Regions from separate parts of the Homo sapiens genome. Here region 1 is linked to region 2. Evidence: promoter capture Hi-C in 16 types of primary human blood cells and fetal thymus (Javierre and others, 2016). All regions are on one chromosome and are shown on one strand. The core of a region is centred on a gene start or on the middle of the fragment in contact, and the rest is flanking DNA. Distances in the headings are between cores, read along the strand shown.

Region 1 (6,703 bases), core at 2,815-5,314, 120 kb after region 2:
ATCTTCCGTTTCTGTCATTTCAATGTTTTTTATTCAGGTGAGGGAGATAAGAGCTTTCTAACCGGTTATGAGTCACCTACTTCATCAGTGAGAGAGGGTTACTTGACTTTGCAAATAACAAGAATATTGTTTTTCAGCCAAAACTTCCATTTTACAGCCTTTTACACCTCTGAAGCTGCCACATAAAGTACTTACCTAATGCTTTCTATAGAGAGCAGAAAATAGTAGTATTCTAAGAAGGAGCAGTGGGTTTTGAACTGATAGAAGCCTGAGTTTAATCCCTAAGTTTCATTCATGTCACTGGCACTTAGTAACTGTGATCTTATGCAGAATAACTGACCTCTCTAAGGTTGTGTTTCCTTTTCTGTAGAATAAATATATGATAAACATATATAAAATGCAAGTGGCTAAGAACTCAAAATATCATTCCTATTGAGAGCCATAGGCAACCACAGGCAGGAATGATCACCGCGTGCCAGGATTGCATGTGGAGAAAGGTAGAGAGCATTGTAGTAGGGCAAATGGCAGAAGAAAAGGCACAGAAGTGAGAATGCACATGGCTTAATAGGAGAACACTGAACCGGTGAGAGTGCCTGAGAACAGTGCACACATGAAGGAGTAGTTCTTGGTGAGGATGGAGTCCATGAGAAAGGAGCCAGCAGTTTTAATTTGCTTTTTAGCAAATAAGTTGGAAACAGCTTTAACTTAGATTCAGTCCTTACAGGAACTCTTCCCTTAGTGTGGTGCTTTATCAACATACTCAAAGCTCTAAATTTATTAAATTGCACTAAATCTTGTCTGCAAAACTTTTGGCACTATAGATCATTCCTTTACTGACAGGCTAACTCAACAACTCAACATTGCATCTTTCTTTCTTTCTCTCTCTCTCTCTCTCTCTTTCTTTCTTTTTTTTTTTTGAGGTGGAGCCTTGCTCTGTTGCCCAGGCTGGAGTGCAGTGGCATGATCTTGGCTCACTACAACCTCCACCTCCCAGGTTCAAGCGATTCTCATGCCTCAGTCTCTTGAGTAGCAGGATTATGGGCATGCTCCACCACACTAATTTTTGTATTTTTAGTAGAGACGGGGTTTTGCCATGTTGGTCATGCTGGTCTGGAACTCCTGACCTCAAGTGATCTGCCCACCTCAACTTCCCAAAGTGCTCTTTGCATATTTCTTACTTCCAAATATGCCATTGTTTTGCATTGTTTCAACAAACCTCTCTCCAAAAATTGCAAAATGATAAAACATTCTCTTTGTGGAGGGGGTGGTAGTTGGAAGAGGTGGGGGGACTCAACCGGATTCATTCACTCTTTAACCATTTTCAAAGATAATCAACTCTTTTTTAAAAAGCTTATTAGAATATAATACACATATAGAAAAGTATACAAAGTGAAAATGTACAGCAACATGATTCATCAAAAATCAAACACTTAATGAAAATGTCACCCAGGTAGAGATGTAGGACATTGCCAGCCCCCAGAAGTCCCATGGGGGCCCTCCCATTTACTACTTCATCCTTCTTCAAATGTAACCATCATCCTGATTTGCAGAGTAATCATTTCTTTATTTTATTTATACTTGTTCTGTAGCTTAGTTTTGCATTTTTAAAAGCTTTAATAATGGAATAGAATTATACATTAATGGTCTGTCTGCTTTTGCTCAATGTATTTGTGAGATTCACCCATTTTTTTGTAAATAGTATCTCATTCATTTTTATTGCTGTCTAGTACTCCATCAGTTGAATGTACCATAATTTACTTATCTGTTCTAGAGTTGATGGATTTTTAGGCTCTTTCATGTTTGGTCACATTACAAATAATGTTGCTGAAAACATTTCTGAGCTTGTCTTTTAGTGCACATGTTTGTGTATTTCTGCCAAGAAAATATCCATGATTGTAATTGCCAGGTTCTAGGACATAACCACAAACTGTTTTTGGAAGTGGCTGTACCAATTTATATTTCCTTAGGTAGTTCATTGGAGTTCCATTGTGTCCTACTCATGAAAACTTTGGTATTATCATAGTTTTCAATTGTAGACATTCTGGTGAGTGTGTAGTGATTTCTCATTGTGGCTTTTATTTGTATTTCCTGATGACCCATGTGATTAAGCACCTATTAATATGTCTGTTGACAATCTGTATAGCCCCTCTATAGGAACATCTATTCAAGTCTCTCAGCTGTTTTTAAATTGCACTGTCTGCTTTTTGAAAATTAATTTGTGGCCTTTCTTTTTATTTAACCTCATGATTACTGAATATGATTCTGTTTTGGAGTAACTCCCTGTGGCTAAATTAATGCTTTTGTACCCAGAAGTTCATGAACAGTGTAAAAGTTTACTGATTTTGTCAAGGAGACGAAATGTACATCAGCAGTACAATAAGTTAATGACCTAGTTCTGCATAACGAGAAGGGTCGCTCACTGAATTGTTCATTAAATGAAACTCTAGCTCATTCTCCTCTACCTTCTCTCTCACCATTCAAGTTTGCAGAATGGTTCCTCCCATTGGCCATGGGTCCTATGAAGATGTGAGATCATTTTTTATTCTCTACTACTCTGGTGCACTGTCACTGTGATGATGGATATGTTCTAATTGGAGAGGCTGAAGTCACCTGCAGAAATTCACATTGGTCAGCTCCAGCCCCTCAATGTAAAGGTTAACTCCAAACTTACTGAGGGCCCTTGCTAAGAAGGTAGAGCCTCTATGAAAGGTCAAACAAGAGTCTCCTCCTAGACAGAGGCAGCACTTAGAAATTTACACTTTACTTATTTATTTAATTTGCATAATTAATATATACACATGGTACAATATTTTAATAGCATGAATGATCACAGTTTATCACTCTTGAACACTACTGTTATCAATGTATCTTTCAGAGGTCATCTGGAAGGCCACTTTTTGCTTGAATAAAAGTTTTGATTTAAATATAACATACTACAACACTGTGTCCAAATCTTAGGTGTACAGGTCAATAAATTATCACAAAGTGAACCCACCATGACAAACTACCACTCAAGTCAAGAAGCATCACCACTACCAGCATCCCAGAAGTGTTCCGTGTGCCCTCTCCTAGTGACTCCCCAACTTTCCTTCCCAATTAGTCTCACCTCTAGCATCACAGATTAGTTTTATCAACTTTTTAGCATTATATTTAGATTGGTGCAAAAGTCACTGCGGTTTTTGCCATTACTTTGAATATAAAGGAAATCATGTATGTATTCTTTTGTGCCTGCCTTCTTTACTCAGTATTATGTTTTTGAAAATCATCTATGTGTTCTTGCATGGGGTGATAGCTTATTCATTTTCATTGTTGTATAATCTTTGGATAAACATAACACATTTTATGTATCTTATAAAAGTTTAGGATTTTCATGTTATAGGCTATTATGAACAATGCTCTTATGAACATTCTTGCACATGACTCTTGATACAAATGTGCAAATATTTATGTTGGGAATAAACTTAAAAGTGGAATTGCTATTTCATAGAGTATGCATCTATTCATCTCTTTTTTTTTTTTTTTTTTTTTTTGAGACAAGTTCTCATTTTGTCACCCAGGCTGAAGTGTAGTGGCATGATTATAGCTCACTGTAACCTCCAACTCCTGGGTTCAAGGGATCTTCCTGCCTCAGCCTCCTGAGTAGCTGGGACTACAGGCATACACCACCATACCTGGCTAATTTTTAAAAAGTGTTTTGTAGAGATAGGGCCTTTCTTTGTTGCCCAGGCTGGTCTTGAACTCCTGGGCTCAAGTGATCCTCCTTTACCTGCCTTGTCCTCCCAAAGTGTGGGATTACAGCTGTGAGCCACCACACCCAGCCATATATTCATCTTTAGTAGATAATGCCAAATTTTGTTCAACGGTGATTGCAACAATTTAAATTTCCACAAGCAGTGTATGAGTGTTCTAATTTTGATAAATAGAAGTTCTAAATTCTAATTTAGTTCTATTTATAATTTTTTTCCTTGATGTTGGCACCTTTCATATCCTGTTTAAGAAATATTTGCCTACAGCAAGGTCACAAAAAATATTTCCTTATGTTATTTTCCAGAGCTTTATTGTTTTAACTTTTCACATTAGTATCTCCAAATCACTTGGAATTCCTGTGTGTTTATGGTGGAAAGTAGTGGTTAAAATTTGTTTTTCTCCAACGGCTGTTCAATTAATCATATAGCACTTATTTAATAAACTATACTTTCCACACAACTCTGCAGTGTGACCTTTGTTATAATTCAAGTGTCTGTATATACAGGGTTCTGTTAGTGGACTTAGAGATACAATTTTTAATTTGAGAGTATCAGTGAGGATTTGGCAAAATTTTAGTGGGCATCTACTTAAGTTTAAATGAGGAATCCTGTGGGTAAATTCCCAACATCTTTGAAGTATTCGATGTCTCCATTAGAAACCATGCATGCTCCCACCTTCTCATAATGAAGTTGACCTGATAGGAGATTTTTGGTCAACCACAAGGATAGGGTCAACCTTTTTTTTTTTTTTTAACTAATCTATTAATAGCAACTCAAGGAGCTAATTCCCCACACTGTCTCCATTTAACACAGCAAGATATTAAGAATATGAGAATAAAAATTATATACTTAGGACCATGAAAAGATCAAGGTTTGGAAATACTGTACTAATTTTGAAAACTCTGACTCTAGGACCGCAGTGACTAGGTTTACATCATAATCATGCCACCCAAAGGCTATGCAATATTAGACAAGTCACACAAACTATCTGTACCTAATTTTTCTCTTTAGCAAAATGGAGGTAATAATGTTTTGCATTAGTACTTACATTGACATATAGTATGTGCAATAACATTATTAGCATTATTATTAATCTTATTGTTATAATCATAAATAAATGGAGGTAAAGAACAACTCTCAGCATCCCATCCAGGTATAATTTATCAATGTTTCATAACTCTCAATATTCTTACTATTATAAGATCTTATTCTGAGAATCATAGGATGATCAAAATTGTGTTTCCATTATAGCTCTGTGTCTGAAACCAGAGACAGAAAATGGAAAGCTGTCTGGGTAAGGATCTGTATGTTGAACTTGAAAATGTCACCATCCAGTGTGACTCTGGCTATAAAGTGGTTGGTCCTCAAAATATCACTTTGGTTGGTCCTCAAAATATCACTTGATCAGAGCACAGAACATGGCAGGCACCCAGAGGTGCCCAGTTGTGAGTGGGTAAGTGGCACACATTTCAGGGCATCCTATCCCATTCTAAAAATGATAGTCTCCTCCAGAGCACTGTCCTAGCCAACACCAGCGAGATCTGACTTTTGGCAAGATTTATTTCGGGCACATCACTTACAGAATTAGCACCGTCACCTTTGAAGCACTTTGGTGTACTTGTTAAGGTAAGCTCAAGAAGGACCACACCCCTAGATAGGAAGGTCTCATAGATCCAGCTGACTTGACCCCCAGCCTCATACTTTCTATAATAAATGCTATGCTTTTGCTTCATTTCAGATGGGCCCATCAGAATTGTCCCTTCTGTCGCCCCTAACGAGGCCCCCTGGGTGTTGTCTGCAGCGTTGTTCCTTCCCTGCTTCACCAGCTACTGATTGCTGCCTGACGGCCGAGGGAGAATACTTTGCTGAGACCCTAGTTTCTTTGGGATTTTATTCATCTGTCCTGAGGAGGGTTTTGACATTCCGGTTTTGTGGTCATCAGTGATACATCCAGAAGAAATCTTACATATTCGGATTTCATTTGGAGAGAAGCCTCTCAAAAACTATCGCTTTATTTCATTTAGGTAATCTCTGAAGGTTGTGAGCAAGTGCTCACGGGTAGAAAGCTCATGCAGTGTCTCCCACACCCAGAGGATTCGAAAATGACCCTGGAGGTGTAAAAGCTGTCTCTGGAGATTAAACGACTGGAACACGTGTGAGACTTGAAGACGAACAATGCCAGTTAGAAACCAGTTAGGAAGGATTTTCCTTCCCTTTCCCCACAAAACAGAGAAGCAGTTATATTTCTCTCTTTAGCAATTCTGTGTTTCTCAAGTACTATTATTTACTGGGGAAAAATATCTGTGTTTAGGAGAATTCACTAATATTCTTAGTGGCACCGATCACATGAAACAATTCATAATTTTTGTCTTAGTTCAGTTTAAGTTCCTGCTTTCCTGGATTTGGTGGACTGGCTGAATAAATAATTACCTATCAAAAATCAAATTATCTTTGTTTTTACTTTGATTTCTGAGTAATGAAAAATTAGGGCTCTCTGTAAGTCATTTTCTGATGTTTCTCAGATTAACTTACTTTTCTACTTTATTGTATATGTTGTCCTCAAAAAACACATACTTGCATCCTTTATCTGAAATATCTTTACCCTACATTTTCATTTCCTACTCTTCCTGACCTGTATCAGATCAAATATGCCATCTTCTTCTGAGTCTCCTCCATTCTGATTACTAGTATTTCTCTAGAGTAACTTCTTGTTTCCACTTTATACTTAAGGGATATTTGGTTTTGTTTGATATCCCTTTCACCCAATAATAACAAGCTTGAAAGTTATTCAAGCCATTCAAGATGGCTTGGCCATCTGCAAGCCAAGGAGAGAGGCTCGGAAGAAAACAAGCATGCTCATACCTTGATCCCAGACTCCCTGCCCCAGAACTGTGAGAATAAGAAAAACCAAAACTCTGTTGTTTAATCCCCCTAGTCTTTGATATTTTGTCATGGCA
Region 2 (6,970 bases), core at 2,485-4,984:
CTGCATGATAAATTAGAGATGGTGCAACACAAGTGAATATATTTCTTCTCTTTTTTAGAAACAAAAATTTTATATTATTTTTTACTTACAATTCTCCTTTTTTAGAGGGTAGAAGAAATAAGAATCCTAAGGCTTTCAATCAAAATGTCATACTGAGCTGGCATGACAAGCTTCTCCCACCTCTCGTCCTGACTGCTACCTGAAACACGTAGGATATCTAGATAAAGTGCAACCAAAATATATAAGCCAGCTTGAAATAATGGAAAATCGCTAGGTAAAGTTATGAAGGGGAATAAGAGATGGACTCTTGAGTACCCCAGAGTCTACTAATAGGCACAAGACATGTACACACGTAGCATTATTTTAGAGTGGTTAGAATGAACTAAACATTTTCAGACAACAGTGGGCTATGAGAGCTCAGATGAGAGGAGGTTCACTTCTGTCTGGGAGGAGGAGGCAGGAATATTGTCAAGGAAGAAGTCACAGTTATTTGGGCCTTCAAAAGTAAGTGAGAATTAGAGACAAAGATTAAAGAGCTCATTCCAGTTGGAAAGAATATTTGAGAAATGGAGTAAGACAATAATAAGATTTAAAACCAATTTTTTTTTTTGAGATGGAGTTTCGCTCTTGTTGCCCAGGCTAGAGTGCAATGGCGTGATCTCAGCTCACCACAACCTCTGCCTCCTGGGTTCAAGCGATTCTCCTGCCTCTGCCTCCTGAGTAGCTGGGATTACAGGCATGCGCCACCATGCCCGGCTAATTTTGTATTTTTAGTAGAGACGGGGTTTCCCTATGTTGGTCAGGCTGTCTCGAACTCCTGACCTCAGGTGATCTGCCCGCCTCGGCCTCCCAAAGTGCTGGGATTACAAGCATGAGCTACCACGCCTGGCCAATAATAAGATTTTTAACCAAGTAAATTCATTCCTAGGATTAATCTAACTGGAGGAAAATGATTTGAAATTGAAGCTACTTCTTATTTGTACATATTATCTATCTAGGAGGATCTTATGAGCATTTGAAATGTCTACTCTTAGGAAAATTTTGAATAAATTATGGTACTTTAAATGTAATGCAGACCTATATGGTGATAAATATGAGGAAGTAGAAAATCTTAAAAATACAATCTTAAGTAAAAATAGAATATTTAATAACAAGGGCTTATGATTGCATTTATGTAAAACCTTTATTCTTGTGGGAAAGGATTAGACAATAATAGGCACAGATAAAAACATTTGTCTTAGAATATGAAATTATAAGTGTTTATTCTCTTAAAACTTTTTAATGTTGTAAAATGAATTTCTAATAATAATTTTAGAAGGCATTGCACAGAGGCAGAAAAAATGGGATATGTTTAGGAACTTGCACATAGCCTGGACTGGCCTAGATGAAGCATGGAAATTGGTGAGAGAGAAGGTGGCTGGAAAGATAAGTCAAAGCCAGTTTATGGAGGCTTTTGAATGACGTGCTAGAGAATATACACTTGTTTTTGGTAGGCAGAGAATATACATTTGTTTTTTGGCAGTCAGACCATGAAGACATGGAAGCCTTGCAAACAATGAAGTAATAAGGACAGAACATAAAGAAAGATTTCTCTCACAATGTTGGTTGTAGTATTGGTTGATGAGGGAAAAGAACTAAGAGAAACCAACGAAAGGACTCCTACAATAGTCCATATGGGAGGCATTATCAACCTGAACTGGTTTGGTGGCAGCAGAAATGAAAAAGCAGCAGCAGACACGAGAGATATTGAAAACTTGTATCAAAACAACCTGTCAACTAATCAAACATTGAAGGGTGAGGGAGAGGAAGAGTTCAAAAGTGAATCTGAAATTTTATTCCCGAGAACCAGAGGTCAGAAAAAGCTGGGGTCAGAAAGTGAAGCTTGTTGGCCGGAAATGAGAAATTCCTCTTTGGATGTGCTGAGGGTGAAGTGCTTGCAAGATGTCCAGTGGGGGGAAAAAAAAAACAAAACCTAAGAAAGTAAGTCTTGAGTTTCGGAGAGTAATCAGAAATAATAATGTAGTGCTGGCTAGTCTTCTTACTGGTAATAGTTAAAGCTGTGACAGAAGGCAAGATCATTAAAATTGCGAAGATAATTTTTTTAAAAAAAGAAGAGCCTGAGATATATCTATATTTAGGAATGAGAAGGAGGAAGAGAAGGTAACAGTAACTAAGAAAGAGAAATTAGTTAAGTTAAGGGAATCAGGTAAGTTTAGTGTCATGGAAGCCAAAGGAGAAGAGAGTTTCAGAAAGGAAATGATCAGCAGTGACAAAGGCTGCAGACAGATCCTAAGAAATGAATTAAAGATATTTTGGACTTGGACCTAAGGGCGTGCCTCAGAGAGACATGTCAGTAGAAGAGTGGTAGAAGCCAGATGGGAAAGCAACAGGTGGAGTGATGAATGAGAAAGAACAGGCAGGTAGAACAAGTCACACCTTTGAGAAGTTCAGCATCACACTAAAGAAGAAAGGTGGAATTTGAGGTATTGGCAAAATTGAAGGGACATTTCAGGATGAGAGATGCATTGAAAATGAGGCAGGAAAAGAAGAAACAATTCTCCTCGGAATGAGGAGTGAATAGGAGGGAAAATTTGACATTGATGAAGCTAAGGTAGAATGATTTTTAGTAAAGTAGGAGGTAAGAGCATCTGCTGAGAGGGAATGTGACAATTTGGTGACCTGGAGAGAAAAATCTGCAAGAGTCACTGTGGAAAGTAAACGAAAGGACTTCAATACATTGGAAAACGGTACTTTAAAGAAATAGCAGCTTTAAAGGTGATATTTCTTCCAATTTAGTCTCAAGACTGTGCAATCTGGAATCCTCCTCTATCTTCATTCTGGTCAAATCAGTGTCTCACCTTGGTGACCTAGCGCATGGTTTCTTTACATCTAATATCCTTACCACTTTTATCTAATAATTTCTACCTTTTATCCAAATCTCACATCTTCTGTAGAAACTTCCTTGATTAACTCAACCTGTTGTAGTTTAGTTCCTTTTCTGAAACTCTTCTGGGACTTTCAGTATTTATTACAGAAAAAGTGAAGTTCTCAGAAAGAATTGCCTTTTAATAGCAATCTTCTGAGCACACAAATCTTAACCTTGAGGATTAGTAGCTTAATTGGACTATGTAAGTGCTTGTGGTCTTTTTAGATCTATGCGAGAGGAAACATGGCCGGTCCTTCATTGCGTTCTTCTGAGCGCACTGGATAGATCAATTTTTGGAGGCCCTCTGGTGCCTGACATGTAGTAGCAGTTAACATTTGCTGAACTCCAAATACGTTCTAGATAACTCAGCACATAGTGGAAACCCAATGCATGTTTGATAAATTCCCCACCTTTTGTAATTCCTTGGGGTGGGATAGAGACGAGCTCTGGGCAAGAATATCAGTTTTCAAACTCCAGGAAAGCATACTGGACCTAGTGTCATGGAAAGTGGATCATTTTTGCGGAGGCTCTCTGAACCTCGCAGTATCCAAGGTTTCCAGGCTAGCTGGACTGTGTCTTGCCATAACCCTTATGTGTTTATGAAAAGAAAAAAGAATTCTGGCTTCAAATTCAAATTACCTTTCCACTTAGGGGAAATGGTTGGCAGAGGAGAAAATAAACGATTGCGACATGTTACGAAGAATGAGGACTAGCAAAGAGGAAGGAGCTTAGGTAAACAGTGCTGCTTTATTTCTGCTGTTAATCATTCATTGGGCCCGTCAAAAGTTTCTGCCCATCTATTTCCATCAACCGTCCTTGACCAGCCAACCACATGGCTGAAATTCAGGGACTCTTTGGTGGAGCAATTACCAGTCAACTTCAGGGTATTATGATAAACTCTGATCTGGGGAGGAACCAGGACTACATAGATCAAGGCAGTTTTCTTCTTTGAGAAACTATCCCAGATATCATCATAGAGTCTTCTGCTCTTCCTCAACTACCAAAGGTCGGTGGACTACTAAACCCTTGGGGAAGCTTGGAGGAAAGGCTGGTGGTTTGGCCCTTTAAGGAGTGCAGGATTAGAAGGATAAAACAGAGACAAAAGCTTGGAGGTGTTTTCAGCAGAAATCTTTTCAGGAGCACTGTATTAGGGGGATGTAAGACTTGAGACGTACTTTAAACCCTATCTGAACCTCAAGTTTTAAAAATTATAAATGGAGGAATAATATTGCATTCTAATAAAATAAGCTAAAGAAGAAGAGGTGTAAGGTGTTGCTCTTGTTACTGTATCTAAAAGACAGATGTGTTGGTTTGTTGATCTTTCACCACCTTCCCACATCAGAGTTGAGGCAAGGGGTCAATCAGACTTTTCAAAGGGTTCACAGGAAGCTTGCTTTTCTTAGTCTACATTCTGAAAACTGGGGCCATTTCTATTTTGAGATTTGATTAACCACTCCAAATCTCCTCCACCACTGACAGCAAAGATGTTTAGATTTGGTAATAAGGAGGACACTGGCCAGCCTCCAGTTGGTTTCTGAAGCTAGCAGTCTTAGTCGTCCTCATCTTCTTTACTTTCTGAATTTGACGATGCTGATAACCCTTCCTTCTTGAAATTCTCTTCTTCCTTGGTTGGCCAGGATACAGTACCATTCTGGTCCTCATTTTAATTCTTCAACCACTTGTCTCTTTGCTGATTCCTATTCTATCTCTAAATATGGTAACACCAAAAGAATAAAAAGTAGACTACAGAAGAGGCAGAAGCATCAAAGAAGGTTGGCATTAAGCTTAGAGATATGTTTGAATGTAGTATGAGCACAGAATAAAGGGGCTGATAGAAAAATAAAGAGATTTGGCCAGGTACGGTGGCTCACTCCTGTAATCCCAGCACTTTGGGAGGCCGAGGCTGGCGGATCACCTGAGGTCGGGAGTTCGAGACCAGCCTGACCAACATGGAGAACCCCTGTCTCTACTAAAATTACAAAATTAGCCAGGCATGGTGGCACATGTCTGTAATCCCAGCTACTTGGGAGGCTGAGGCAGGAGGATCATTTGAACCAGGGAGGCAGAGGTTGGGGTGAGCTGAGATCGTGCCATTGCACTCTAGTCTGGGCAACAAGAGTGAAACTCCACCTCAAAAAAAAAAAAAAAAGAAAAAAAAAAGAGATTCTAGGAAGGGTGGGGAAAGTGTGGGAGCCAGTTCTTTCTGGAGTTTGTAAGTGATATAATTGAGAGCCCAGGTATAAGGAAGAAGACACTCAGCCCGAGACTGGAGAAAAATACTATCCTTTCACAAGGTATCTGCATTTTAAAAGGGGGAAGTTAGACAAAATAAATATTAACTTAAAAAGTAACTTCTCATGGAAGGAGAAATTTGAGGACTAAAGATTTTTCCAGTGACTCTCAAATTGCACTGCATTGCTAAGTGCTGATATTATTTTTCACAAGGGACCCGCCATGCTGACTAAAGTTCTTGAGTTGGTTCCATTTCTGCAGGAATTTAAAAGGTGAAGTCCTTGAAATATGAAAGTTGGCTAGAGTAGTCTCAGCTTTTCAGTGAGCAGTTACAGAATTGCAGAATTTGTTCATCTAGGTTTAATGTCATTATTTTAGAGATGGAGGGAACTGATATCCAAGAAGCTGATATAGCTTCTTCAAGATCACAGACTTAGACTGTGGTATTGCTGGAACTCCAACTTGTGTCTTCTCAGCTCGCAAGTTCTAGCCTCCATTCCCATACTCTGTGGCCAGCTGGTTTCTGCTGAGGGACCACCAGGAGTAGTTATGGTGAACTGCAAATGCCGTAGTTGGAGAAGAGTTAGGATGCATCCTGATGGTTTGTTAGGGAAGTCTAGTCACTGTATTATCTCTCTTCAAAACTGACAAAGCATTTCACACACATTATTTCATTTGGTCCTCAGTGAGACAGTCATTCTCATTCTAAAGATAAAATTAAATTGACTTTCATTCCTTTTAGATTTATTATTGTTTATTCTGTCTTATTCCTTCCTCCGTGTAAGTTTTTTTTTTTTTTTTGAAACGGAGTCTCGCTTTGTTGCCCAGACTGGAGTGCGGTGGTGCAATCTCTGCTCACTGCAAGCTCCGTCTCCCGGGTTCACAGGCCATTCTCCTGCCTCAGCCTCCCGAGTAGCTGGGACTACAGGCGCCCGCCACCACGCCCAGCTAATTTTTTGTCTTTTTAGTAGAGACAGGGTTTCACCGTGTTAGCCAGGATGGTCTCGACTTCCTGACCTCGTGATCTGCCTGCCTTGGCCTCCCAAAGTGCTGGGATTACAGGCGTGAGCCACTGCACCCGGCCTCCTCTGTGTAAGTTTTAAGCTAGTTAAATTCTGGTGCTCAAATTAGGTCTTTCTAAAGGCAGTGAAAGAAATCTCTGCGAAATAAGGAGGAACTCTTTTCTCTTCCTCTGCATCTGCAAAAAAGCAGATGATAATCTGCGTGATAAAACTGACCTTGCAAATGTTTTTTTTTAACAAAGGAGTCACGGGGTTATATAGACCAATTACAATACCACGTTAGAGATGGAAAGTTGAATAAACACCTTCCTTGTCTTCAAGGAATTCACAATGTATTTCGGGAGGCAAAAGCAAATAGATAGTTAGGATACAAAACAATGCTACAATTAAGGTATTAGCCAAGTACTAGAAGAACAGAAAACACTGGCATTTCATGATGAAGTCAGGCAATGCTTCACCAAGGAGGTGACATTTGATCTGAATAGTGAGTAAAGGAATAGTGAGTAAAGGAGAAGTTGGAGGTAAGAGCATTAATGCATGGGAGACATTAACTGCAAATGCTTGCAGGTGTTTTTTAAAAAAATCCTGGCTTTGTATGGTGGCTCACGCCTATAATTCCAGCACTTTGGGAGGCCGAGGTGGGAGGTTCACTTGAGGCCAGGAGTTCAAGACCAGCTTGAGCAACATAGTGAGACCCCTGTCTTTACAAAAAATTAAAAAATTAGCTGGGTGTGATGGCACGCTCCTGTGGTCCCAGCTACTGGGGAGACTGAGGTGGGAGCATCATTCG

The links. Contacts are between HindIII fragments. The CHiCAGO score rates a contact against its expected background, and 5 or more counts as called.
Region 1: a fragment that was not itself captured here is called in contact with the fragment with the promoter of C4BPA in region 2 in 5 of 17 cell types (M2 macrophages, neutrophils, monocytes and 2 more); the score reaches 7.3 in M2 macrophages.

The regions. Positions count from the first base shown.
Region 1 is chr1:207,223,304-207,230,006 of GRCh38, forward strand. All of the region lies in intron 1 of LOC107985251 (a long non-coding RNA gene), which reads right to left. It also overlaps the pseudogene C4BPAP2. Among named protein-coding and RNA genes, the nearest start is that of LINC02942, 13 kb to the right of the region's middle. The HindIII fragment of the contact is 4,911 bases long and covers 1,610-6,520 here.
Region 2 is chr1:207,100,499-207,107,468 of GRCh38, forward strand. It overlaps C4BPA (complement component 4 binding protein alpha), which reads left to right and starts at 3,735. Exons shown (of 12, transcript NM_000715.4): 1 at 3,735-3,932. The HindIII fragment of the contact is 2,080 bases long and covers 1,880-3,959 here.